Linked DNA regions of Homo sapiens: all the other regions are linked to region 6. Evidence: promoter capture Hi-C in 16 types of primary human blood cells and fetal thymus (Javierre and others, 2016). All regions are on one chromosome and are shown on one strand. Each heading gives the region's core, a stretch centred on a gene start or on the middle of the fragment in contact. The rest is flanking DNA. Distances are from core to core; before and after follow the strand shown.

Region 1 (4,439 bases), core at 321-2,820, 890 kb after region 6:
CTTAAAATTGAAGAACAAGGCCAGTCATGGTGGCTCACACCTGTAATTTCAGCACTTTGAGAGGCTGAGATGGGAGGATTGCTTGAGCCCAGGAGTTTGAGACCAGCCTGGGTAACACAGAGACTCTGTCTTTACAAAAAAATTAAAAATTATCCAGGTGTGAAGGAGAACACCTGTGGTCACAGCTATTCAGGAAGCTGACACAGAAGGATCCCTTGAGCCCAAGAGTTTGAGGCTACAATGACCTAAGATCACACCGCTGCACTATAGCCTGGGCAAGAGAGTGAGACCCCGTCTCAAAAAAAGAAGAAATAAATAAATGAGAGTACAGTTGCATGAAGAGATGACAGAATAAAACCTTTCTGTCCTGTTCTCAGATATCATTAAAAACAAGGGAAAGGGAAAAAAAGACTCCATTGCTGATAATACTGAGAATCATCTAGACTCTGAACCTCAGTATATGAGAAAGTTCTCTCAAGAAAGGAAAGATGGAATAGGATAAAGGAAGACACCAGAAGCGAATGTCTGAAGACCTGTCTACACAGATGATGGAACTACTGTGGGGGCAAAACCAAGAATCTTTTCTTTGCACAGTGAAAACAGGGTGTGCGGGCTGGTGTCAGAAATTCATTCTGCATCTAGACTGAACCACAGCAAAGGGTGAGAGAGAGAGGGGAAAATAAACAGGCATGCTGTCTTTGAAGAAGGCAGAAGCAAAGCGAGGTGTGCAGTCCTCATTAGGGAAGAGGAGTTGGACTGGCGGGAGCAGAAGAAAGCAAAAAGACAAGGCAGATAAGCTGTAAGTCTGCCTTTCTTCATGGTCCAGGACACACAGCCCTCCTGCGCAAGTAACTCACTATCTTTCCATGCCCAGCTATTACCGCACCCTCAATTGACAGAAAAATGCAAGTGAGCTCACTGCAACCTTGGCATTATCAGCGCTGCACAAAGCCCTCTTCAGGACACAGCACAAGTACCATCTTATAAAATCCCCAGCAAGCCTCTGTCTCCCTGCAGTCAGCTCCTTTCTTGCTGACCTGCCCATTGTACCCTTGCAACATATTTTCACACTTTCTCTAATAAATTTGCCTTTCTCTGCCTCCAACTGTCATGGTAAATTCTTCTTACCACCCACACCATTGGCCCCAAATAGTCACTGCTCACCTGCAACACAAGGGCTGAAAAGGGCCACCCAGCAGCCCATCTTCATTGCCTAGAGGGAATCAGAGGCTGAAAGAACTCAGAGGGAAGACTCAGAACACCACTCTGGCCCCTCCTCAACACACAACTACAAATAACTAGCCTAGGAATAACTCATATCATTGAGAAAAATAATCATAAAAACTAGCATAGCAGCTATGCAAAGACTAAAGAAAGAAAAGGAAAAGGAAGATTCTGGTTAAACATGTGCTTTTATCTCTGTGTTCCCTCTGGAAACTCTACTAAAAAAAAGATCCCAAGGACAATGCTGAGTGAAAAGGAATCAACCATAGAAGAAAGAGGGCAACAAAAGTTTGGAAAACAGAAAGTCAAGGGGAGGAATAAGCCAAGGAGCAACAGGTTAGAACTTAAGAGTTATCCTGGAACATGGAAAGGAAGCTCTGAAGTCCATCCAGGGAGCAGCGAGACATATCCATCTCCTTACCTTGCACATCCTAGCAACTAATTCTCCTCAGCCCCTTTGGTAAGCAGATTTATTCTCTGGAAAAAATGAACTCAAGAGGGTTGAGGTACATAATGGCCCAAATGAATATGGGGGTGAAATGCTGGACCTGGACTATGATGACAAGTTATGTGAAAGTCAAACTGAACACTGCGACCCCTAGTCCCCTTCCTCCCACCCTGCTCCCACAACACAGACAGATTAAAGGATTCTTCTGGGCAGAAACTGAGCAACCCCAGAGGACACACCATTATCTGGGAATCTTCCATCAATGTTTGCTGCCTGCTGGCATCCTCAGGCATCAAGCTCCACCCAGGTACACAAAGTTTGCAAATATCTGTGTGTGTCCTCCTCACTCTTAAATATGAAGGAAGGCCTACAATGATTAGAAAACAGACAAAAAACTCCAAGATGAAAAACGTTTTCAAAAAGGAGAGAAAAAAGGGACATGGAAGAAAAAAAGACAATAAAGGGACCAGATGAAAGATATTTTTAAAAATCATTAATATCCTCGAATATAAAAGATGTCACATCCATTAAGGAAGAACAGGAGGCTATAAAAAAGGAACAGAGGAACTTGTAGACACTGAAAACATGATAGTTGAAATTTTAAAATTCAATAGAATGGAAAAATAATTACCTACAAAGTAGAACAAAAAAGACACGGAAAGAGAAAATAGAGAAGAAATAATAAAATTCAGAGAATTAAGCCAAAAGATCAAACACCAAAATAATAGGAGATCCAGAAAGAGAAGCAAGAAATTAGAGGAAATTATCAAAGATTCTTTTTTAATATCCTGAAACAGGAAAATTAAAGTCTTTAGAATGAAAGGGCTCACCAAGTACTTAACACAATAAATGGAGAAAAAATACCTTAAATGGGCAAAAATGGATACAATAATGCTTCCAATCTTTTTTTTTTTTTTTTTTTGAGATGGAGTCTCGCTCTGTTGCCCACGCTGGAGTGCAGTGGCGTGATTTCAGCTCATTGCAAGGTCTACCTCCCGGGTTCAGGCCATTCTCCTGCCTCAGCCTCCCGAGTAGCTGGGACTCCAGGCGCCCGCCACCACACCCGGCTAATTTTTTTGCATTTTTAGTAGAGATGGGGTTTCACCGTGTTGGCCAGGATGGTCTCGATCTCCTGACCTTGTGATCCGCCCTCCTTGGCCTCCTAAAGCACTGGGATTACAGGCATAAGCCACCGCATCTGACCTCATGCCCAGATAATTTTTGTATTTTTACTAGAGATGGGGTTTCGCCATGTTGGTCAGTCTGGTCTCAAACTGCTGGCCTCAGATAATCGAACCGCCTTGGCCTCCCAAAGTGCTGGGATTACAGGCATGAGCCACTGCACCCGGCCTTCCCCAAGTTTTAATCAACTCTTTGTAATTCTTGCTTTTCCAGATTCACAAAGCTAAGAACCAGTCAAAGCTAAGAACTGTTCTATAGTGGAAATACTAACACACTGTCAGCGTGTGAATCCCTGCCCAAGGGGCCAGCCTTTCTCTCTTACGTCTCTCTTTAAATGCCACATAATATTTTCAAATGCAACATTATCTTTAACATGGCTGCTTACCTAATCTTACAATATAAGATGAAATATGAAAATGTATTCTACCACTCTAAAAATCACTTACCATATTTGTTAGTATAACAACATACATTTTAAAAAACATACTTGTTATCAAGGTATTCATATAGTTCTTCAGAAATTATTGCAGTGCCTACTGTAAAGTATGACAAATTTTATTCACTGTAAAAGGTGACAATGTATAAAAATATGCAAGTTTGGCCAAGTACGGTGGCTCACGCCTGTAATCCCAGCACTTTGGGAGGCCAAGGCGGGTGGATCATGAGGTCAGGAGTTCAAGACTAGCCTGGCCAAAATAGTGAAACCCCATCTCTACTAAAAATACAAAAAAAATTAGCTGGGCGTGGTCGCAGGCACCTGTAGTCCCAGCTACTCAGGAGGCTGAGGCAAGGGAATCGCTTGAACCCGGTAGGCAGAGGTTGCAGTGGGCCAAGATCGTGCCCCTGCACTCCAGCCTAGGTGACACAGTGAGACTCTGCCTCAAAAAAAAAAAAAAAGTGAAAGTTTATTAGACTTGGCTTTCTAAGGTAACCCTCTGCATGCAGAGAACTAAATGGATAAAGTATGGTGCTAATATTTAGGATGCTATATTTTCTATATTACAACTTACACAGAGCTGGCACACCAGAGCAGTGGCTCTAGAGGCAGGCAGACAGAGTTTAAATATCTCAGTTCTGCCACTGTCAGCCAAGAACTTTGCATCAATATGCCATCTATAAAACTGGGAAAATAGCAACTACTTCACAGAATTGTGAAGAATCAAAATATGAATATGCCTAATGTATTTTATAATTGGCATCTACTGGTTGAGGATCCTATATCCAAAATGCTTGGGGTCAAAAGTGTTTGGGATTTTGGAGTATTTGCATATATATGAGATATCTTAGGGATGGGACCCAAGTCTAAACGTAAACTCCTGTTTGTTGCAGCACTGTTTACAATAGCTAAGATTTGGAAGCCACCTAAGTGCTCACCAACTGATGATGGATAAAGAAAATGTGGTACATATACACAATGGAGTACTATTCAGTCATTAAAAAAGAATGAGATCCAGTCGTTTGCAACAAAATGGATGAAACTGGAGATCATTATGTTAAGTGAAGTAAGCCAGGCACAGGAAGACAAACACCACGTTTTCACTTATCTGTGGGATCTAAAAACTAATTGAACTCATGGATATAGAGA
Region 2 (4,641 bases), core at 1,906-4,405, 840 kb after region 6:
CACAGTCAGATTCTCAGGTATGAAGGTTATAGGACTTCAACATATGAACTTTGTGGGGACAATTTCCTCTCTCCTGCCCGCTCGCAGTGACTTGGAATACTCTTGAGGGTGTCTCCATCTATTTTGTATTATATTTCATTATCTGGAAAAGCTTATTAATCTAAGCATTTTGTTCCTGCCTCAGGAGCTTGTCATATAAACAAACACCTAGACAACTAGCAATTAATACAATAAAGCAGGTAACGAGCTGCTGGTTTGATAATGTGGACTGTAGCTCTCTAGAAGCTCAAAGAAGGAGGACAAAGGTATAGTGGCTACATTGATCTGGGAGGGCCTTAGGAGCAGGAGGGGTTAACAGATGCTCACATAAGGCCTAATATTTAAATAGGGGTTCTAAACCTTAGCAGTACATTAGAATTATTTGGGGGATGTTTAAAACTACTGGGCCTTGGCTGGACGCGGTGGCTCACGCCTGTAATTCCAGCACTTTGGGAGGCCAAGGCAGGCGGATCACCTGAGGTCACGAGTTGGAGACCAGTCTGACCAACATGGGGAAACCCCGTCTCTACTGAAAAATACAAAATTTAGCCGGGTATGGTGGCACATGTCTGTAATCCCAGCTACTCAGGAGGCTGAGGCAGGAGAATTGCTTGAACCCGGGAGGCAGAGGTTGTGAAGAGCCGAGATTGCACCATTGCACTCTAGCCTGGGAAACAAGAGTGAAACTCTGTCTCAAAACAAACAAACAAACATAAACAACAAACTACTGGGCCCAGCTGGTGGCTCATGCCTGTAATCCCAGCACTTTGGGAGGCCGAGGCAGGCAGATCACCTGAGGTCAGGAGTTTGAGACCAGCCTGGCCAACCACTGCCAACATGGTGAAACTCCATCTCTACTAAAAATACAAAAATTAGCCGGGTGTGGTGGCAGGCACCCATAATCCCAGATACTCAGGAGGCTGAGGCAGGAGAATCACTTGAACCCGGGAGGCAGAGGTTGCAGTGAGCAGAGATCATACCACTATGCTCCAGCCTGGGCAACAGAGGGGAGACTCCCTCTCAAAAGCAAAAGACAAAAACAAAAACAAGAACAAACTACTGGGCCCCAGAGATTTCAGTTTAATTGGTCTGGATGAGTATTCTCCATTGATTAAGAAAAAAATACTCTCCAGGTAATTAGAATACACAACTAGGGGCCGGGTGCAGTGGCTCATGCCTGTAATCTCAGCACTTTGAGAGGCCAAGGTGGGAGGATCCTTAGGTCAGGAGTTTGAGACCAGCCTGGGCAACATAGCAAGACCCCCCCCCCACCCCACCCAATGCACATACCTGTTTCTATGTGGAAAAAAAAAAAAAAGAAAGAAAAAGAAAAAGAGTATATGGCCGGGTGCTGTGGCTCAAGCCTGTAATCCCAGCACTTTGGGAGGCCAAGGCAGGTGGATAACGAGGTCAGGAGATCGAGACCATCCTGGCTAACACAGTGAAACCCCGTCTCTACTAAAAATACAAAAAATTAGCCGGGTGTGGTGGCGGGCGCCTGTAGTCCCAGCTACTTGGGAGGCTGAGGCAGGAGAATGACGTGAACCTGGGAGGCGGAGCTTGCAGTGAGCCAAGATCGCGCTACTGCACTCCAGCCTGGGAGACAGAGCAAGACTCCGTCTAAAAAAAAAAAAAGAAAAGAAAAAGAATATACGACTAAGACTGAGAATCTCTGGCCTAAATGAACAGATGAGCTTAAGGAGGGCATTCATATTCCAGGTGAGCAGGAAGCTTCGAGGGGAGGCAGCAAGCAGGAATGCCGCGGATATTGAAAGAACATGGAGAAGGCAGACTTGCTGGGAGCTGAGGATGTTTTAAGGGTCGTGGAAAATAAGTTTACACAGATCAGAGTGAAATTACATGGGGTATATGGAATCTATATCAAACAAGAAAGGCAGGAGGAAGATAGAAGCAGGTTTGCAAGCCCAACTGGTTGGTTATTACAGACAGACAGATGTGAGGTCCTGAGGGTACTGGATGGAGATGCAGAAAGGATCATAGAGAACACTGGGAAGGGTCCCGGCGTTGTGGATCATGCTTGTAATCCCAGCACTTTGGGAAGCTGAGGCAGGAGGATCTGCTGGAGCTCAGGAGTTCAAGACCAGCCTGGGCAACATGGCAAGACCTTGTTTCTGCTAAAAATAAAAATAAATTAGCCAGGCGTGGTGGTGTATTCCCGTAGTCCCAGCTATTCAGGAGGCTGAGGTGGGAAGATAGCTTGAGCCTCGGAAATTGAGGCTGCAATGAGTCATAATCATGCCACTGCACTCTAGCCTGGGAGACAAAAAAATAATTTTAATTTTTTTTTTTTTGAGATGGAGTTCCACTCTTGTTGCCCAGGCTAGAGTGCAATGGTGCAATCTCGGCTCACTGCAACCTCTGCCTCCCAGGTTCAAGCAATTCTCCTGCCTCAGCCTTCCGAGTAGCTGGGATTACAGGCACCCGCTGCCACACATGGCTAATTTTTGTATTTTTAGTAGAAATGGGGTTTCACCATGATGGCCAGGCTGGTCTCAAACTCCTGACCTCAGGTGATCCACCCGCCTTGGCCTCCCAAAGTGCTGGAATTACAAGCGTGAGCCATGGCACCCAGCCGGATACTGAATCTTGAGCCCAGTGTCATCAGGACAGAAGGCAGAATCTCTCTAGTAGCTAAGTCCTGGGATAGTGTCTTTTGCGTCTCCAAAGTTTTCCCAGTCTCCGTTCTCTCTGTGGAGCTTACACACTTTGCGCCAATTTCCTGAGGCACCTCACATCCTTCCAGTACATGCTTTCATTAACTAGAGTTAGTTTCTGTTGTTTGCAACCAAAACTGCTTAACTGATTGACCATACTTCTTCCCATTATTCGAGTTTTGGGGGAGCATTATTTTGCATTCAAAATCCAGAAGTGAGCAAATCATACCCTGGGATCTTTGTCTCTCCTTTCTTAAGACTCATTCGGGCCTAGCGCGGTGGTTTATGCCTATAATCTCAGCACTTTGGGAGGCGAAACCCCGTTTCTACTAAAAATACGAAAATTAGCCGGGCGTGGTGGCGGGTGCCTGTAATCTCAGCTACCAGGGAGGCTGAGATGGGAGACTTGCTTGAACCTGGGAGGCGGAGATTGCAGTGAGCCAAGATTGTGCCATTTCACCCCAGCCTGGGCTACGAGAGCAAGACTCCATCCCCCCTTCCCCCCTGCTGGCCAGAAAAAAAGATTGATTTGGACATTCTCATTTTGATTTCAAAAAAGACAAGTCTGTGGCCACCAAGGGTGATGAGAGGTGGCCATATGATGTCCTTTTCACTCCTCATACCTATAAACTCATTGAGAGGTACCAGTGACCTTTCTGCACGGACTGTCTTTTAAATTGTCTGTTTACAATGCTGTATCCATTTATACTCCATTTATTTCCCCATGAGGACCTGAGAGTGGCCAGGCATCGTGGCTCATGCCTGTAATCCCAGCACTTTGGGAGGCTGAGACGGGAGGTTCACTTGAGTCTAGGGGTTCCAAACCATCCTGGGTAACAAAAAAAATGAAAGTAAAATCAGCCAGGCATGGTGGTGTGTGCCTATAGTCCCAGCTACATCTGAGGCTGAGTTGGGAAGATCGCTTGAGGGCAGCCATTGGAGGCTGCAGTGAGCTATCATCATGCCACTGAACTCCAGCCTGGGCAATAGAGCATGACCCAGTCTCCAAAAAAAAAAAAGTATTTGAGAGTATTCCTTCCTCTCCATTCCTTCTTTCCTATGTCCCTACCTGGCGCTTTTTTTTTTTTTTTTTTTTTTGAGACAGAGTCTCGCTCTGTTGCCCAGGCTGGAGTGAAATGGCATGATCTCGGCTCACTGCAACCTGTGCCTCCTGAGTTCAAATGATTCTCCCGCGTCAGCCTCCCGAGTAATTGGGATTACAGGTGCCCAGTACCACGCCTGGCTAATTTTTGTATTTTTAGTAGAGACGGGGGTTTCGCCATGTTGGTCAGGCTGGTCTCGAACTCCTGACCTCAATTGATCCTCCCGCCTCGGCCTCCCAAAGTGCTGGGATTACAGGCTTGAGCCACTGCGTCCAGCTCCTGGTGTCCTCTTTCTTTTTTTAGACGGAGTTTCACTCTGTCGCCAGGCTGGAGTGCAGTGGCCCGATCTCGGCTCACTGCAACCTCCGACTCCCTGTTTCAAGTGATTCTCCTACCTCAGGGTCCCAGGTAGCTGGGATTACAGGCATGTGCCACCACGCCCAGCTAATTTTTGTATTTTTAGTAGAGACGAGGTTTCACCATGTTGGCCAGGATGGTCTTGATCTCCTGACCTCATGATCCACCTGCCTCGGCCTCCCAAAGTGCTGGGATTACAGGCATGAGCCACCGTGCCCGGCCTCCTGGTGTCCTCTTTCTTTGGTGACTTTTTTTTTTTTTGTAAAGAACTAAGAACTCCAATGCTCTCAGCATTACCAATACATGCAAAGGAGGCTATGCTTCTTTTGTAAGTGAGAGAAACTCAGTCTGGCTTTGGAAGCTTGAGCTTTCATTGACCTGAGATATATGCCTTTCACAAGGTGGAAAACAAATGTTCCTAAAAGCAATAACATTACTTGACATTTTTGTAGCATTTTTTGTCTTCA
Region 3 (4,399 bases), core at 835-3,334, 870 kb after region 6:
TCACAATCAGGACCTTGGGCTCCGTACTAGTATTTTATGGTCTTAGAAAAGTCAATTATTCCTCCCCTCCCCCTCCCCCTCCCCCTCTCCCCATGGTCTATCTCTCCCTCTCCCTCTCTCTCCACGGTCTCCCTCTGATGCCGAGCAGAGGCTGGACTGTAGTGCCGCCATCTCGGCTCACTGCAACCTCCCTGCCTGATTCTCCTGCTTCAGCCTGCCGAGTGCCTGGGATTGCAGGCGCACGCCGCCACGCCTGACTGGTTTTCGTATTTTTTTGGTGGAGACAGGGTTTTGCCGTGTTGGTGGGGCTGGTCTCCAGCTCCTAACCGCGAGTGATCTGCTAGCCTCGGCCTCCCAAAGTGCCGGGATTGCAGACGGAGTCTCGCTCACTCAGTGCTCAATGTTGCCCAGGCTGGAGTGCAGTGGTGTGATCTCGGCTCGCTACAACCTCCACCTCCCAGCCGCCTGCCTTCGCCTCCCAAAGTGCCGAGATTGCAGCCTCTGCCCAGCCGCCACCCCGTCTGGGAAGCAAGGAGCGTCTCTGCCTGGCCGCCCATCGTCTGGGATGTGAGGAGCCCCTCTGCCTGGCCGCCCAGTCTGGGAAGTGAGGAGCACCTCTTCCCGGCCGCCATCCCGTCTAGGAAATGGGGAGCGTCTCTGCCCAGCCACCCATCGTCTGAGATGTGGGGAGCGCCTCTGCCCCGCAGCCCATCGTCTGGGATGTGAGGAGCGCCTCTGCCCCGCCGCCCCGTCTGGGATGTGAGGAGCGCCTCTGCCCAGCCGCGACGCTGTCTGGGAACTGAGGAGTGTCTCTGCCCAACCTCCACCCCGTCTGGGAGGTGAGGAGCCTCTCTGCCCGGCCGCCCCGTCTGAGAAGTGAGGAGCCCCTCCGCCCAGCAGCCGCCCCGTCTGGGAAGTGAGGAGCGTCTCCACCCAGCAGCTGCCCCCTCCAGGAGGTGGGGGAGAGCCCCCACCCGGCCAGCCGCCCCATCTGGGAGGGAGGTGGGGGGCAGCCCCCGCCCGGCCAGCCGCCCCGTCCAGGAGGGAGGTGGGGGGCGCCTCTGCCCAGCCGCCACGCCGTCTGGGAGGTGTACCCAACAGCTCATTGAGAACGGGCCATGATGACGATGGCGGTTTTGTTGAGTGGAAGGGGGGGAAGTGTGGGGAAAGGAAAGAGAAATCAGATTGTTGCTGTGTCTGTGTAGAAAGAAGTAGACATGGGAGACTCCATTTTGTTCTGTACTAAGAAAAATTCTTCTGCCTTGGGATGCTGTTAATCTATAACCTTACCCCCAACCCCGTGCTCTCTGAAACATGTGCTGTGTCCACGAAGGGTTAAATGGATTAAGGGCGGTGCAAGATGTGCTTTGTTAAACAGATGCTTGAAGGCAGCATGCTCCTTAAGAGTCATCACCACTCCCTAATCTCAAGTACCCAGGGACACAAACACTGCAGAAGGCCGCAGGGTCCTCTGCCTAGGAAAACCAGAGACCCTTGTTCACATGTTTATCTGCTTACCTTCCCTCCACTATTGTCCTATGACCCTGCCAAATCCCCCTCTCTGAGAAACACCCAAGAATGATCAATAAATACTAAAAAAAAAAAAAAAAAAAAAAAAAAAGAGAGAAGCTAGAAAAAAAAAAGAGAAAAGTCAATTATTTTTTGGGACTGGCTCATAGTTGCCTCAGCAGTAAATGGCAGATGGTATTGGGTGATTTCTAAAGTTCATTATGCAATCAAATCTGTAGACAACTTGTCAGGCCCGCTTTTTCTTCCCTGTCTTTATATTCAGTTAACTACTTACTGCACGCTGAACCTCAGGGTGTGTCAGAGCTTCTAGAACACAGGTTTGAAAATGAGAGAGTGGAATGAGATGATTTTTCAAAATACTTCCCCAGAGATTCCAATCCAAAGTGTCCAAGATGGGGACTAGACACATATTTTCTTTTCTTTTATTCATTTATTTATTTTTTTGAGACAGAGTCTCACTCCGTGGCCAGGCTGGAGCGCAGTGGCACGATCTTGGCTCACTGCAACCTCCGTCTCCCGGGCTCAAGCAATTCTCCTGCCTCAGCCTCCCAAGTAGCTGGGATTACAGGCGTGTGCCACCAAGCCCAGCTAATTTTTGTATTTTTAGTAGAGATGGGGTTTCATCGAGTTGGTCAGGCTGGTCTCAAACTCCCGACCTTAGGTAATCCACCTGCCTCGGCCTCCCAAAGTGCTGGGATTACAGATGTGAGCCACCGCACCCAGCCCATATTTTAGAAATCATTATTCTGAGGAGTAGCTGCAGTTCAAGCTCTGTAAGGGGTTCTTGGGAAAAGCGCCAGGATATGCCTGTCCACCAACTACAGGCCTCAGCAGGAAGTCTGCACCATTCTTGGGGAAAGGAAGAAATAGGGAAAAGGAAGGAAGCATCAAACTGGAGCAGCTCGGACCCCAAGCATAGCCTTCAGGGCCGCAGCTTCAGCTAGAAAACTCAGTCTGGCTACCCTAAATCCCACCAAGGTCACTGGAGGACTCAGCACATTTCCCACGACAAAAAGGCTCCGTCTCAAGAAAAAACAAAAACAAAAACAAAAAAACCACCACCACCACAAAATATTCCCCAAATTTTTTTCCTGGGTTACTATTTAACATTAATTTGGAAGATTTCTTCAACTGAAATTTTCAACAAAGTACCAAAAGAACGTGGTATTCAACTACAGTCACTAATTTGTAGTCTAAGCTGAAAGGAGGCTCTTATGTTGAATTCAAAGTTCAAATTCTTGGCAGAATAATTATAGTCCCTCTAGCAAGCTATGAAAATTCTAAAATAAACACAAATGTGATTAAGTAATAAATGTTACATTATTTACAATGTAAGTGGCAAACTAAAAGAATTCTCAGGTATAATAATAGCAAAGATTTTATTCCAAAGAAAAAAAAAGCAAAATCCCAAAGGCCTACTTTGATGAAAGCTACTATGAAATTATGCCAGCATATTTTTACTACACTTTAATATTTGCCAGTTAACAGGAATTTTGGAAAGCAATGTTATAGACACAAATTTTTAGAAAGGAAAGAAAAAAAAAAAGAAAGGAAAAGAAAAAATATTCTATCCCCAAACTAAAGAAATATGCTTAACTAGTACTGATGACTAATCAGATGTCTTTTTTTTTTTTTTAAGGAACAAAATAATGGCATTTGCAGCAACCTGGATGGAACTGGAGACTATTATTCCAAGTGAAGTAACGCAGGAACGGAAAACCAAACATCGTATGTTCTCACTTGTAAGTGGGAGCTAAGCTATGAAGACGCAAAGGCATAAAAATGATACACTGGACTTCTGGGACTCAGGGGAAAGGGTGAGGGTTGGCGAGGGATAAAAGACTACACGTTGGGTACAGTGTACACTGCTCAGGTGATGGGTGCACCAAAAGCTCAGAAATCACCACTAAAGAATGTACCCATGTAACCAAACACCACCTGTTCCCCCAAACCTACTGAAATAAAAAAATAAAAATACAGGGGGAAATACATAGTGTACGTCAATGACAGATAATTACACATCCCTTGTCTTTACTCAGAAGCAAAATAAACACTGAAATAATTTTACCAAAAAAAAATAAAAGGAGTGCCACATTTTTTTATTTTATTACTACCCAAATCATCCTCAGCTCAAAGAAGACTTAGCTTTTCTGCCAGCCAAATGGCCTTACTATAAATAGGTATATTTATTATGCCCTAAACATGCCTTGGGACTGACATGCTATTTTTTGTGGACTTCATAATTATAATTAGGCCCGGTGTAGTGGCTCATGCCTATAATCCCAGCACTCTGGGAGGCCGAGGCAGGTGGATCACTTGAGGTCAGGAGTTCAAGACCAGCCTGGCCAACATGGTGAGACCCTGTCTCTACTAAAAATACAAAAATTATCCAGGCGTGGTGGCGTGCGCCTACAGTCCCAGCTACTTGGGAGGCTGAGGCAGGACAACTGCTTGAACCTGGGAGGCAGCGGTTGCAGTGAGCCAAGATCATGCCATTGGACTCCAGCCTGGGTGACAGAGCGAGACTCTGTCTCAAGAAAAAAATAAAAATAAAATAAAATACATAAACGAATAATAATTATAATCAACACACCGTTTCTCTCGTGCTGTTCCAAATATTTTGCACACTGAAAGATGACAAATGGGCCAGGCACACTGGCTCAAGCCTGTAATCCCAGCACTTCGGGAGACCAAGGTGGGCGGATCATGAGGTCAGGAGATTGAGACCATCCTGGCTAATACGGTGAAACCCCGTCTCTACTAAAAATACAAAAAAAAATTAGCCAGGCATGGTGGCAGGCGCCTGTAGTCCCAGCTACTCGGGAGGCTGAGGCAGGAGAATGGCGTGAACCCGGGAGGCGGAGCTTGC
Region 4 (4,677 bases), core at 1,578-4,077, 930 kb after region 6:
TCACCATTAACGGAGATGATGCCGAAAACGCAAGGCCGAAGCCAAAGCCAGGTATGTGTGTGTCGGCTGTGATGAAGGTGGTGTGGTTGCATTACGTGTCTTGGAACTTGCTGCTAGTTTGATTTATTAAAAGAATGTAGTCTTTCATGGAAAGAATCGGTCTTTCAAATAGACTTCATCAGTATTCTTGTCTCTCTTCCTAATCATGTATTTTAGCATTTTTCTTTTGCCACTTCATTCATCTTTACGCTTTCTTTGTAAAAAAATGTTAAATGACATATTTCCCTGTTTTCTATATGAAGTGTATTCCCACTTAGTAATATGAGCTGCAGGCTTAAGTAGTAAACAGTGAGAAACTTAAATCACCCTGGTTTCTGTCTTCATGTATATTTTAAGAATGGCCTAAGTTCCCCTGTAGTCCCAGCTGCTCTGGAAGGTGAGGCAGGAGGATCACTTAAGCCCAGGAGTTGGAGGAGCTATGATGGTGCCACTCTGTGACAGAATGAGACCATGTCTCTCTTAAAAAAAAAAAAATGGCCTAAGTAATTGTTAACGGGCAGCAGATTATTCACTATTTCTCTTTGCTCTATAATATTTCTTAGCAACTTTGGATTCAAAAGCTGTGATGTCTCTGTCAATTCCGTGTTGTCTCTCCCATCCTTTTAAAGGGGGTATTTATATGTGCACCACAGTAAATCAGTATCAGTGATATTCTTTAACTTCTTACCCTCTTCAGTTGTTCATATTTATGTTTCAGTATCCCACTGCAACTAATTTTAAGTCTTATTTTTTGCCGGGCGTGGTGGCTCATGCCTGTAATCCCAGCACTTTGGAAGGTTGAGGTGGGTGGATCACTTGAGGTCAGGAGCTCGAGATCAGCCTGGCCAACATGGTGAAACCCTGACTCTACTAAAAATACAAAAATTAGCCAGGCATGGTGGTGCGCACCTGTAATCCCAGCTACTCGGGAAGCTGAGACACAAGAATCACTTGAACCCAGGAGGCGGAGGTTGCAGTGAGTCAAGATCACACCACTGCACTCCAGCCCGGGCAACAGACTGAGACCCTGTCTCCAAAAAATAAATAAATAAATAAATAAATAAATAAATAAATAAATAAATAAATAAAATAAATCTTAATTTTTGAACTGCACATATACATATGAGACACTGTGGAAAAGTTTGGCAGTTCCTCAGCATATTAGATACAGAATTATTATATGATCTGGCATTTCATCTCCTAAGTCTACACCCAGAAGAAGTGAAACAGGGACTCATATACTTGCGTGCCTGTGTTCATGGCCGCCTCTGTGGAAACAACCCAGGTGTCTGCCAGCAGATGAATGCATCCACAAAGTGTGGTATACACACAAACACACATACACGCTGAAACATGCGATAACATGATGGGCAAATACTCTGATTCTACGTATCTGGGTGCCCAGAATAGACAAACTGATAGAGGAAGACAGTAGAGTAAGCGCTACTAGGGATGGGGAATTAGTGTTGAGTGGATCCCGAGTTTCTGTTGGGTGTCATGAAAAGTTCTGGAGATGGATACTGGTGGTGGTTGTGCACCTTTTTGAATGTTATTTAATGCTACTGAATTGTACCTTCATAGTGGTTAAAAGGTAAGTTTTTATATGTTCTGTATATTTTACATAATACGCAGATTCATATCTATAAAAATATACATACTATCGAATATGCTTTAAATTTTGCTACTTAACATTATGTGGAGAACAATAACTTCATACTGCTCGAGTTTGACAATGTATATAAATTAAGTTAGCAGAAACCCAGGCTTCTGTGAAATTCTCAAAGCCTTTTTGACGCCTCTTGTATAAAAGTCTTCCGATGTTACCACTCCAGGCCTTGCTGAAATGTTTTCCTTCTGTTTATTTCCAGGGGATGGAGGTATGTTCTGCAACTCCTGGTGGCCGAGCGTGTATGACTTAGTGTAGTGGTGATGGCTGCAGACATTTTGGGTTGTTTTGGTAGGCTCTTGACGTTAGCTTTGTTTTCACTTGCACTTTGTCTGTTTAGAGTTTGTGGAAGTCATTTCTTTACCCAAGAATGACCTGCTGCAGAGACTTGATGGTAAGCATTCTCCAGACCGCCACCCAGTTTCTCCAGTTCTCCCCGTCCCCATCCCAGCAAACTGGGTACTAAATATAACTCCATTTCTTTATCTTTTTTGTATCACTAAAGTCAAATGCCTAGCAACTTGTAAAACTGCAGGTGACCACTACTAATTTTCCTTTCTGGGTGGCACAGAGTTTGAAAATAAGAGCAAAGCATTCTGGGTCAAGTGCAAACTTTTGGTAGAGGCTTTTTCTCCTACAGAATGGCCCAGATGACATTCCTGCTGAGTAGCCAAAACGATTCTACACTTTAAACCTTCAGTCCATAGCAATGCAAAGGTGTGGGTAGATAAGCTGTTAGCTTTTCCTCAAGTATGCTAGTATGAGGGATGGTCCTTTGTGGAGGCTGTATGTTCAAGGAGAAATTGATGATGCTCCTTCAACAAATACTTGAGGTATTTCCTGTATACTCCGTGTGATATGCTTTTCACATAATAAACCAAACCAGCTGTGTGGCCCTTAGAAATCACTGGTCATGTAGATGCATTGTATAATTCTTGGCCACCCATCTTTTAGAGACTTTGTAAACAGTAAGCTTATGGGGAGAAAAGTCCTTTGATAAAACCACGAGAGGAGATACTGTATGGAGACATGAGGAGATACTGTGTGGAGACGAGGAGATACTGTATGGAGACATACCATGGGCCCTTCAAGGAGCACCTCTGTATGGGCTGGCAAATCCCTTTCACTCATCTAGAAAGAAGCAGACACTTGTCATCATGGGAATATTTTATTGGGTATAAGTGTTTTAGGTAATTGATAACTGATTTTTCTACTGTTTTTAAGTGATTACTTCAAATGTGATTTGAAGCATTGTTTGGCCTGAAGCTTTAAGACCAGTTTCTTAAGCTTTTCCCTGAGTTTCAGCAGCTTACGGTTTCAGTGAATAAGCAGAGCGCCTGGTTTTGAATTGTCTGTTGTTTGTTTGAAAATCTGAATGTGTCTTTCAAAGGCTGCTGTGATTTCTTTGGATAAAATCAGATTTCGTATCCCTTAGAGAGCTTCCACTCCTGCTTCACCTTTCCAAAAACTAGACCTAAGGTAGAAGCCACCTCGACAGCTCAAAGCCAGAGTTAGAACAATCATACTGAATAGATACAATAGTTTATCTGGTGCGTATTTGGAGAAAGGCATGACAATCAATACGAGGCAGCGCAGCTCGGAGTCACAGGCCCGACTCGGTTTGAGGCTCCGCGGACCATAATTAGCTATCACATCAAACAGGTTCTGTAGCCTCTCTCGGCTTTTTTCATAAAACAGGAACAATAACAGCCCCTCCCTCTGAGGAGGTGCGTGGAAAGCAGGGTGACGTAGGCAAGTGTGAAATGCCGTGCGGGGTTATCTTTTAGTAGAAGAGTATCCTTTTTGTAAAATGTCTTCCTTCTCCCTTCCACCTTCTTAACTTCACTTTTGGTCTTAGAAAAGGGAGAAAAAAATAGAATAAGTGAGGGGAGGTGGAGAGAGGGCTACTATGGCTATAAAGGAGGAGGGGTAAAAGAACCAAGTTGCCTAGCTTTAGCAGAATCAAAATACAGTAATCAAACCGTTTATTCAACCAGCAACATTTGAGAAGTCGGAAGGAAAGTATTACATTTTAAGATCAGTTTGCTGGCCGGGTGCGGTGGCTCACGCCTGTAATCCCAGCACTTTGGGAGGCCGAGGTAGGCTGATCACTTGAGGTCAGGAGCTCCAGACCAGCCTGGCCAACATAGTAAAACCCCATCTCTACTAAAAATACAAAAATTAGCCAGGCATGGTGGTACATGCCGGTAGTCCCAGCTACTCAGGAGGCTGGGGCAGGAGAATCGCTTGAACCCGGGAGGCGCAGGTTGCAGTGAGCCAAGATCGTGGCACTGCACTGCAGCCTGGCGACAAAGTGAGACTCCATCTCAAAAACATAAAAAAAAAATTAAAAAAAGATCAGTTTGCTACAAAGAGTAGCATCTGCCAGTTACCAAGCACCTGCTGTGCCCAGGTGAGTAGGACATGCTTCCTGCCTGCAAATGTCCCCAGGCTTGTTCCCAAACAAGCGGCTAGGAAAACAAGAGGCTGATTTTACATCTGGCAACCTCCATCTGAGTGAAACAAATTTTAATGAAAGCCTGTGGTAATAAGGTCCTGAGACCGCATTCTTGGTAGTAGATCTCCAGTCCTAACATGCACACAGTTTAACTTGCCGGGGGAACATATGTATCCCCTAGCAGCAGAAAAGATGGAATCCCTAAGATCCTACATAATCATCACCATCTGGTTTCAGAAAAGCAAAGCCCTACCCCAGCTATAAATGAGGTATAGCGATTGGCTCTATACACTTCCAACTTTGCTGTTTTCACACATAAAATCATCCCTGGCTGGGTGCGGTAGCTCACGCCTGTAATCCCAGCACTTTGGGAGGCTGAGGCGGGTGGATCACGAGGTCAGGAGATCGAAACCATCCTGGCCAACATGGCAAAAACCCCGTCTCTACTAAAAATACAAAAATTAGCTGGGCGTGGTGGCGTGCGCCTATAGTCCCAGCTACTGGGGAGGCTGAG
Region 5 (4,685 bases), core at 2,005-4,504, 910 kb after region 6:
CAAGCCTGGCTAATTTTTTTGTATTTTTAGTAGAGATGGGGTTTCACCATGTTAGCCAGGATGGTCTCGATCTCCTGACCTCGTGATCCACCCGCCTCGGCCTCCCCAAGTGCTGGGATTATAGGCATGAGCCACTGTGCCCGGCCTTTCCTTTGTTTTTTAAAGGAGAAAGTGGAGGAGGAGCTTGAGAACCACAGAGCTCGCCATACACTCAGAATTTCTCACCCTTGCCCCGGTGTCTCTGCCTTTGTTCATGTGGTGTCTTCTAGTTGGAATGCTTTCTCTGCACTCTTGGTCTCTAAACCATGTCTTCACATCAAACTATCTTTTAAAAATCTTGGCTGGGTGTGATGGCTCACCCCTGTAATCCCAGTGCTGTGGGAGGCCGAGGTGGGTGGATCACTTGAGGTCAGGAGTTCGAAACCAGCCTGGCCAATATGGTGAAACCCCGTCTCTACTAAAAATGCAAAAATCAGCCGGGTGTGGTGGTACAGGCCTGTAATCCCAGCTGTTCAGGAGGCTGAGGCAGGAGAATTGCTTCAACCTGGGAGGTGGAGGTTGCAGTGAGCCGAGATCATGCCATTGCACTCCAGCCTGGGTGTTGCAGCGAGATTCAGTCTCAAAAAAAAAAAAAAAAAAAAGGCTTTATCATTTTCCTCACTGCCTCCCAAGGGGATGTGTGTGTCCCTCCTTTAAAACATCCTGGTATGGTGGTGTCTCTGAGGCAGGTCTTTGCCCCAGATGTGCTTGCTAAACTGTAACGTGCTCAAGGGCAAGCATAGTGGTCAGTGTGCACTGAGTATATACACAGACGTTTCCACTGCTGGTGCTCTCGAAGCTAGTTAGAGACTGCTAGTTAGCCTGCCACTGTGCAAGACGTCTAAAAATCTTACAGCATTTCCCCTCACTAGTGTTTTTTTTATGCTCTGGAGAATTACACATCCAACACATCCTAGACCTTCAGTGTTCAAACTGAACTGAGTTAAAACGATTTATGAGAATTAAAACAGCTTGTGACTTTAAAGACTAAGGAAAATCATAAATGAAATTGTAGAACACTCGCTGGCGCGGTGACTCACGCCTGTAATTCCAGCACTTTGGCAGGCCGAGGCGGGTGGATCACGAGGTCAGGAGATCGAGACCATCCTAACACGGTGAAACCCCGTCTCTCCTAAAAATACAAAAAATTAATCAGGCATGGTGGCAGGTACCTGTAATCCCAGCTACTTGGGAGGCTGAGGCAGGAGAATGGCATGAACCCAGGAGGCGGAGCTTGCAGTGAGCGGAGATCGCGCCACTGCACTCCAGCCTGGGCGACAAGGCAAGACTCTGTCTCAAAAAAAAAAAAAAAAATTGTAGAACACTCAACATCGTGTACATGTATCTTTTTCATACCATACACATATTGGCAATATGCAAATTACCTTAAATTCTAACTAATGAAGTGGATAAAATTTATATCAAAGTTTGCTTTTAAATCTTGAAATAGCGTTGAGTCAGTGAAGGCAAACTCCGTTGCAGTGGCGGAGACGCTGGCTTACAAAGCACGGAATTTAAAGCTCATTTCTCGTTCTTTCTGCAGCGTGTTGCTGGCAGTGACTGGCCCCCGAATGGCACTATTTGGCTTCTGCTTTTGAAATGGTGCTAAAAACAACATTCCTTTTCTGTTTCTAAAAATTTCTGAGGTACTTTTACAGTCCTTCTGAAATGTTTGGGAATCTCATAGTTAAGAATATGCTCTTGAAATAGCTCATTTTTGTCATTCACGGAATCAGTGGATTGCTGCACGATACTGTTTCCCTTTGAGGCTGATTGCATTCCAAAGAAATACTCTCTTTTAGCGGCCAGGCACGGTGGTTCACGCCTGTAATCCCAGCACTTTGGGAGGCTGAGGCTGGTGGATCACCTGAGGTCAGGAGTTCGAGGCCAGCCTGCCCAACATGGCAAAACCCCATCTCTACTAAAAATGTAAAAATTAGCCGGGTGCAGTGGTAGGAGCCTGTAATCCCAGGTACTCGGGAGGCTGAGGCAGGAGAATCGCTTGAATCCGTGAGGCAGAGGTTGCAGTGAGCCGAGATCATGCCTTTGCACTCCAGCCGGGCAACAAGAGCGAAACTCCATCTCAAAAAAAAAAGTTTACCTAATAAATTATCATCTATGGTACTTTCAAAGGAATAAGTGCCTGTTTTCTTAGTAGGGCTGCAGGTTTCAATATGCTAATGTCTGTCTCTAAATATTTAAACTTCTACGTGGTTTACTTCCTTATTGCTTTCAGGTCTCCATTCAGAAGTCACCAAATTAAACAGGCCTTGCCTGATCACTCCGTGTAGATTACTCTTCCCATCTTCCCCACACTTCTCATCCTTTTTAATCTTTCTTCATGAAACGCTGAGTCACTTGACATAAATTTTGTGTTCTTCCTCACTGTTTTTCCTTTCTCCTCACTGGAAAATGAGGTCCGGGGGAGTGAGGGTCTTTGTCCCTCTCACCACCACTTTTTTTTTTTTTTTTTTTTTTTTAGATGGAGTCTTGCTCTGTCGCCAGGCTGCAGTGCAGTGGCACGATCTCAGCTCACTGCAACCTCCATCTCCTGGGTTCAAGCCATTCTCCTCCCTCAGCCTTCCCTGTAGTTGGGGCTACAGGCGCACCCCACCACGTCCAGCTAATTTTTGTATTTTTAGTAGAGACAGGGTTTCACCATGTTGGCCAGGATGGTCTCCATCTCTTGACCTCGTGATCCACCCGCCCTGGCCTCCCAAAGTGCTGGGATTGTAGGCGTGAGGCGTGAGCCACCGCACCCGGCCTCACCGCCACTTTCCTAAAACATCATCTCACCTTTCACAGGTTGGCCACAAGGGTTACCTATGATAGTCAATCAGATATTTGATTTGTAAACGCACTTTATGAATATTCATACAGTTGGTTTTGTTATTGATTGTATTTTAGAATAGGGAAGCTTGCTGTCTTGGGGACAAATTGAAGATCAGATGGGTAGTATGATCACTTTGGGTCCCAGAAGAAACAAAGAGCAGACTCACTTTTTCCTTTAGGACAGTTGGGAAGAGAGTTGATGCTGGGTGGGCTGTATTTTCTTTGAAGCCGAAGTTAGGTGGGGTAGGTTAGAGAACCGTGGAACGTAAGAGTGCAGTGGCGTGATCTCGGCTCTCTGCAACCCCCAACTCCTGGGTCCAAATGACCCTCCTGCCTCAGCTTCCTGAGTAGCTGGGACTACAGGTGCCCACCACCACACCCGGCTAATTTTTTTATTTTTTATTTTTGTGGAGACAGGGTTTTGCCATGTTACCCAGGCTGGTCTCAGACTCTTGGTCCCCCAAAGGGCTAGGATTCCAGGTGTGAGCCACTGTGCCTGGTCCAAGTAACAGTTCTTAAAAGAAACAACAGAGAAAACACAGGGGAGGAAATCATCAGTGAAGTCGTTCAAGAAAAAAATTCCCTGTAAAGAAGCATAGTAAGAAGTTTCCAGATTGAAAGGACCCACTTGACTTCCCAGTACAATAACATCGACATGAAAGTGACTAACTACAAGCTTCCAGAGGAGGAAGACAGGTCACATGGCAAAAAGATCAAGAATAAGAATAGCTTTGGACTTCTCAACAGCAGCACCAGAAGTAAGACAACTAAGCAATGCCTTACAGTTTCATAGACAACTGGCTTTGGGTCTATAATTCTATATACAGCTGAATTAACAACCATGTGTGTGGGTAAGAAAAAAAGACTTTGACCTTCGGACAGGCAAGGTCCGAAAATGAAGGAATAAAGAAAGAGGAAATAATAATATACAATAAATGGGATAAGGGCCTGCTCTTTTCATAACAGAACTTGTAGTACTACTCGATCCTTTCTCTGCAACTATGACTTTGATACATGCTGAAACTTAAAAGTAAGTGGGGAGGTGGGTCCAGTGGCTCATGCCTGTAATCCCAGCACTTTGGGACACCGAGGCGGGAGGAGGATCGCTTGAGCCCGGGAGTCTGAGACCAGCCTGTGAAACATAGTGAGACCCCACCTCTACCAAAAGTTTAAAACATTAGTTGGCTGTGGTAGCATGCACCTGTAATCCCAGCTACTCAGGAGGCTGAGATGCGAGGAGCACGTGAGCTTGGGAGGTAGAGGCTACAGTGAGCCATGATTTCGCCACTGCACTCCAACCTGTGCAACAGAGTGAGATCTTACATCTCAAAAAATAAGTAAGTTTAGGTGTAACAGATGGATAAAAGACTGAGAGGTGGGCATGGAGAGTGGTAAATCTTTCTTCTGTCTTCCCTTGGAAAGAGTTTAAGATTCGGAGTCAGAAAAATCAGGCTGGGCGCGGTAGCTCACGCCTGTAATCCCAGCACTTTGGGAGGCCAAGGAGGGCAGATCACTTGATGTCAGGAGGTTGAGAGCAGCATGGCCAACGTGGTGAAACCCTGTCTCTACTAAAAATATAAAAATTACCAGGCCTGGTGATGTATGCCTGTAATCCCAGCTACTCGGGAGGCTGAGGCACGAGGATCACTTGAACCCAGGAGGCGGAGGTTGCAGTGAGCTGAGATCGCGCCATTGCACTCCACCCTGGGCAACAGAGTGAGACTCTCTCAAAAAAAACAAAAAAGAAAAAAAAAAAAAGAAAAATCTGATGAAGAAGGGTGGCCTCTAAGTGCCTAGAACAGGCATGGCAGGAG
Region 6 (4,829 bases), core at 113-2,612:
GTATTTCATGGCCAGAATACTTATGCGCCTCTACCTAAGTAAGGGCGGGGGTTCGGCAGGACATAATACAGTGTCCAGTTGCCCTCGAGAATAAAGTTTGGTTTTCCGGGGGTGGGTGGGGGGGTGGGGGGGTGGAGGTTAGGTTAGTTATATTCCTAGCATAATATGCAACCTAAAGGTTAGTTTATAAAAAAAGAAGCTGTTACTTTTATTGTGTTGTACGTAATATATAAAGAACGCCTAAAATTGGCCCAGTGGAAAAACAGATGAATTATGCCAGGACTTAAATCAATGATCGTCCTCTGTCTACAGGTCACATTTAAACTTGCCTTGTCCACTCCAGGGCAATCCCTGGCCTTGGGGTCTGCCCTGGGACTTCTCCAGCCCCCGCCCCAAAACTGGGCCTGTCCTGGGAGGCAGCCTGGCACCACTAACTCTTCTCTCCCTGGGTCAAAAGAGCAAGGTGGGTTCTTCTGTTCACACAGCCTGCACCTTGCTAACCAGATCCAAAGGCTTCTGAGGTCCTCACATTGCCTTACTTTTCTATGCTTTCATTTTCCATTTCATCCTTACAAACAGTTCCTTGGTGTACATTTCCATACAACAGTTTTCCTGCTGGTGGAGGCCAGGTCGGAACCTGGGTTTCATTTTCTTTGAGCGATGTTTACTTCCTGTAGCTTATGCATTTCGATGGCAAAAACAATTCCTTTGGGGTTCTCGGCCTCATCAAATATTCTCTCTATATAGAGTGTACACACTCTCCTAGACACAGCAGTCTATGTGGATTCCCACCGACCCTGGGCACCTCATTCAGCTCGGGTAGTGGTCCCATGTCTCCCACAGGCGTGTCTGTAACCACCTCCTTATGGCGAGGAACTGGCTGCGGAATCCTTCCCAGCCTGCGGGAGGACGTCACCTCCAAGTCTCTGGGTGACTTGTAGAGGGGTTACCTGCGGCCAAGAGGCCGGCCCTGGACCCTTCTTGGGCCCACCCTGTGTTCACTACCCACCCTCTCCCACCAGGTCAGGACCCGCCGAGGCTTGGGGATCCTCCCAGGGCAGCCGTCTCGCGGGAGGGCCGCCCCACCCCTCGCCACCCTCACCCCGACAGGCTCCGGGCCGCGGGGCAGGGCGGCGGGTACCGTTTTCAGGCCGCGGAAGCGCCCGCCGGGAAGGAGCCGCCGCCCCCTCGCCCACCGCTGCAGCCCCCTGCCCTGGCTCACCTGCCGCCCGGCTTGGCTTCGCTCAGGGTCACTGTTTCCTCGGCATCGTGCCGCCTGGAGAGAACTCCCGACCGGGATGGGACGCTGACCAGGGAACCTGCCGGCGGGCGGCGGCGGTGGCGGAGGGGGCAGCCGGGACTGGGGTGCCTAGGGCTGATGCGCGGCCTGGCGACCCCGCCCAGCGCGGCTCAGCTGACAGCCAGCCGCTCCCTGCCCGCGCCGGGGAATTTCCCGGGCCCCGCCCATCCCATACCCCGCCCATCCCCCCCACCCTGCCCATTCCATACCCCACCCGACCAAGGCCCCGCCCCTCCTCTTTCCTGCGTCCGCCCCCAGCTACCCACCCTCGCTGTCCGTGCGGGGTCGAGGCTGGGACCCGGGTGAACAGGGACTGCTCTAAGGCGTCACTGTGACGGCGTTAATCAAAATAAATCATTAATCAAATGCAGTGTGCGGAGTTCGTCTTCCCCGTGTCTTCCCGCAGATCCCGTAGTGGAGGCTGGAGCCGCAGGGGGTCGCTGCCGCCCACAGAAAGAGGAGAATGCCAGGCATCCTCGGAGGGAGGCCTCCATCTGTGTTTTTTGAAAAAAGGTTAACATCTAGACATAGTTAACTGAGCATACATAGCTTTCCACTCGTTTTTGCTTTAAAATACACTCAAAAAGCAGAAAGCCTGCAGGATGCTTCTTGGGCTCTTGTTGCGGACGAATAGGCTCGGCTATTCTTGTTGCTGAAGAATAGCCTCTGCTGGTGTGGAGGAGGGAAGCTGCCCCCGGATTAGACAGCAGGATGACAAGGTAGGAGCGAGAGCCGCCCTATGTGCATCCAGAGTACCCGGGTAGCGCTGCAGGGATGGGAGGGAGGGAAGGAGGGAGGGGGAGAGAGAGAGAGAGGGAGGGACGGAGAGAGGGAGAGAGGGAGGGAGAGAGGGAGGGAGGGAGAGAGGGAGAGAAAAAAAACAAAACAACAACAACAAAACCTAATCTGAAACAGGAAAAAGGCAGATGCGCCCTCTCCTGGTATCTCCGAAGGATTCTGCTTCGCTGTCTGGACCTCCTGCTGCCTGGCCAAGCCTGACTCTCAACCCTGCCCCTGAGGCTAACCCCAAGAGCAGGGCAGAGAAGCAAGCAAGTCAGCGACTGCCCCAGACCCAATTCCGGGCCCTCGAGTTGGTGTGGTGTAGGAGGGGCAGATGAGGCTAGAGGCTGCTTTATAAGGAGTGAGCCTGGGGGTGGGAGTGGGGAGAAATAGAGAATTTAAAAAAATTCTTTTTATATCAGTGCAGGAGGGCCAGGCGCGGTGGCTCACGCCTGTAATCCCAGCACTTTGGGAGGCCAAGGCAGGCAGATCGCAAGGTCCGGAGTTCGAGACCAGCCTGGCCAATATGGTGAAAGCCTGTCTCTACTAAAAATACAAAAATTAGCCGGGCATGATGGTACTCTCCTGTAGTCCCAGCTACTCGGGAGGCTAAGGCAGAAGAATCGCTTGAACCCGGGAGGCAGAGCTTGCAGCGAGCCGAGATCATGCCACTGCACTCCAGCCTGGGTGACAGAGTGAGACTCCGTCTCAAAAAAAAAAAAAAAAAAAAAAAATCAGTGCAGGAAATAACTGATCATTCATGAAAAGGGCTTGGAAAAATATATACAGAGAGAAATGGAATGACGATCTCTAATTTTTGTTTATCTACTGGGATAATCCAGGCAGAAAAGACGGTGTCACAGCTGTACCCTGGGATCGGCAGAAAAGGGTCCCCCCGGGGCCTGTAAGGGGTGCCTGCGGTAAGTCGTACTTCACTAGGCTCCTTTTACTGTTTAAAACCCTATAGGTGGGGCACGGTGGCTCACACCTGTAATCCCAGCACTTTGGGAGGTCAAGGCAGGAGGATCGCTTGAGCCCAGGAGGGAGAGGCTGCAATGAGCTGTGATTGCAGCACTGCACTCCAGCTTGGGTGAGAGGGAGACTTTGTCTCAAGCAAAAACAAAAACGAGAACAAAACAACACTATGAAAGTGAATTAAAATGAGCATCAGTGAAACTCAGAGCCAAGAGAAGAAGGTCACCCACAAGCTGCCCATGGCTTTGGTGTGGGAGGCTCGAGGTGAGTTTCTGGTACAGAAAGCAGTCAAAGTTGTTTTCTCCTGATTCCTTGCTCTCAGTGGTGGGGTCGGGGTGGGGGGTGCCCTGAAGCACTGCACACACACATGCACACACACTCCCCCGACAACCACTTCTTAGCTGTAGGACCTTGACCAAGTTACTTCATCTTACCCTTCCTCATTCCCTTTATCTGTAAAATGGGGAGTATAGTACACTCCCAAATCCAGAAAGTTCTAAGGACCAAACCTCTTTTCTGACCAGACCCAACTGATGGAAAGCTATTTACAGTCTTTATTTAGATCCCTTGATGTGATTTTTAAATTTGTTTTGTGAAGGAAAATCGAATAGTTGATAGGAGAACTGCGTCAGACAGTGTCAGGGTGTTATGTGATATAAATCCCATTTATTGAATAGCCTTTTGAAAATCCCCAGAATTCTGGACTCTAAAGCAGAGCTTGCCCCAAAGGTTTTATTTTATTTTTTGAGGTGGAGTCTCACTCTGTTGCCCAGGCTGGAGTGCAGTGGCATAATCTCAGCTCACTGCAATCTCCACCTCCTGGGTTTGAGTGATTCTCCTGCCTCAGCCTCCCAAGTGGCTGGGATTACAGGCGTGTGCCACCACACCAAGCTAATTTTTGCATTTTTCGTATTGATGAGGTTTCGCCATGTTGACCAGCCTGGTATTGAACTCCTGACCTCGGGTGATCCACCTGCCTCGGCCTTCCAAAGTGCTGGGATTACATGTGTGAGCCACGGTGCCCAGCCACCCAAAAATTTTAGATAAGGCCTCTGGACCCACAGCCCTCACCTAAGGATGCTGAGAAGATTAAAGAGGAAATACGTCTTCAACACCTAGAAGAACGCCTGGCTCATGGTGTTTGTTGCTGTTGCTTGTGTTAGAGCCGGTTCTGTTTCTTAGCCTGGATCATCCCGTTTGGTGACTCCATCTTCCTGCACACTTCCATGGGTAGATGGAATCTAAATGCAGCGAAAAAACTGAAATAATAGCATGCTCTTAGCTGATTTGTTGATGTGGTTTTGTGGTGGGTAAATGTAGAGCAGTGTGGGAAGGTTTTTAGTGAGATCCTAATCTGGGTTTGATGTTCCTTGTGTTCCCTTTCCACCCCAATCTCCTCTGTTTGGAGTTAGCAACGAGTCCCTTTGGGCTTCCTACCTTCAGGAGCGTTGGCTGGACTCCTGGCAACAGCTCTTAGAAGTACAGCCTTTCTTCTTGTCTTTTGAGAAAGCCTGATCTCAATACATCCATGATCTACCCCAGATGTCCTGGAGGAAGAGCCAGAGCTGGGTGGGGTGGAGGCTTTCACAACAGTTGGAGGGAGGAGTGACTCCCCCGCCCCCAGATTGGGAGGAGGAGTGGGATGGTGGTCTTATGAGCATCAAGGACTCAAGCCTCAGTCCCTGCAGCACCCAGACAGACAGCAAGCTCTTGGGATGCACCTACTGGACTTTGGGAACCTCCCGCAGATTCTGCTGCCCAGGCTTGTCATTGG

Evidence for each region. The method cuts DNA at HindIII sites, captures the fragments that hold promoters and counts their contacts. A CHiCAGO score of 5 or more calls a contact.
Region 1: a contact is called between a fragment that was not itself captured here and the fragment with the promoter of OPTN in region 6, in 2 of 17 cell types (naive CD8 T cells and endothelial precursors). The highest score is 5.6, in naive CD8 T cells.
Region 2: a contact is called between a fragment that was not itself captured here and the fragment with the promoter of OPTN in region 6, in 3 of 17 cell types (megakaryocytes, endothelial precursors and naive CD4 T cells). The highest score is 7.6, in megakaryocytes.
Region 3: a fragment that was not itself captured here is called in contact with the fragment with the promoter of OPTN in region 6 in 1 of 17 cell types (endothelial precursors); the score reaches 6.5 in endothelial precursors.
Region 4: a fragment that was not itself captured here is called in contact with the fragment with the promoter of OPTN in region 6 in 1 of 17 cell types (endothelial precursors); the score reaches 5.8 in endothelial precursors.
Region 5: a fragment that was not itself captured here is called in contact with the fragment with the promoter of OPTN in region 6 in 1 of 17 cell types (endothelial precursors); the score reaches 5.7 in endothelial precursors.

Annotation. Positions count from the first base shown.
Region 1 is chr10:12,205,114-12,209,552 of GRCh38, reverse strand. The region is part of intron 2 of CDC123 (cell division cycle 123); the gene reads right to left. Among named protein-coding and RNA genes, the nearest start is that of CDC123, 11 kb to the right of the region's middle. The HindIII fragment of the contact is 8,609 bases long and covers 1-4,439 here.
Region 2 is chr10:12,255,335-12,259,975 of GRCh38, reverse strand. No RefSeq gene overlaps it. Among named protein-coding and RNA genes, the nearest start is that of CDC123, 61 kb to the right of the region's middle. The HindIII fragment of the contact is 2,765 bases long and covers 1,773-4,537 here.
Region 3 is chr10:12,222,969-12,227,367 of GRCh38, reverse strand. All of the region lies in intron 6 of CDC123 (cell division cycle 123), which reads right to left. Among named protein-coding and RNA genes, the nearest start is that of CDC123, 29 kb to the right of the region's middle. RefSeq lists enhancers at 1-726, 727-1,662. The HindIII fragment of the contact is 5,961 bases long and covers 1-4,399 here.
Region 4 is chr10:12,168,139-12,172,815 of GRCh38, reverse strand. It overlaps NUDT5 (nudix hydrolase 5), which reads left to right. Exons shown (of 10, transcript NM_014142.4): 7 at 1-51; 8 at 1,908-1,916; 9 at 2,046-2,099. It also overlaps a transcript of SEC61A2 not described here. Among named protein-coding and RNA genes, the nearest start is that of NUDT5, 25 kb to the left of the region's middle. The HindIII fragment of the contact is 293 bases long and covers 2,681-2,973 here.
Region 5 is chr10:12,186,563-12,191,247 of GRCh38, reverse strand. The region is part of intron 1 of NUDT5 (nudix hydrolase 5); the gene reads left to right. Among named protein-coding and RNA genes, the nearest start is that of NUDT5, 7.0 kb to the left of the region's middle. RefSeq lists an enhancer at 320-1,170. The HindIII fragment of the contact is 591 bases long and covers 2,959-3,549 here.
Region 6 is chr10:13,096,696-13,101,524 of GRCh38, reverse strand. OPTN (optineurin) reads right to left here and starts at 1,362. Exons shown (of 15, transcript NM_001008212.2): 1 at 1,223-1,362. It also overlaps a transcript of CCDC3 not described here. RefSeq lists an enhancer at 577-706 and silencers at 987-1,556, 2,027-2,086. The HindIII fragment of the contact is 12,315 bases long and covers 1-4,829 here.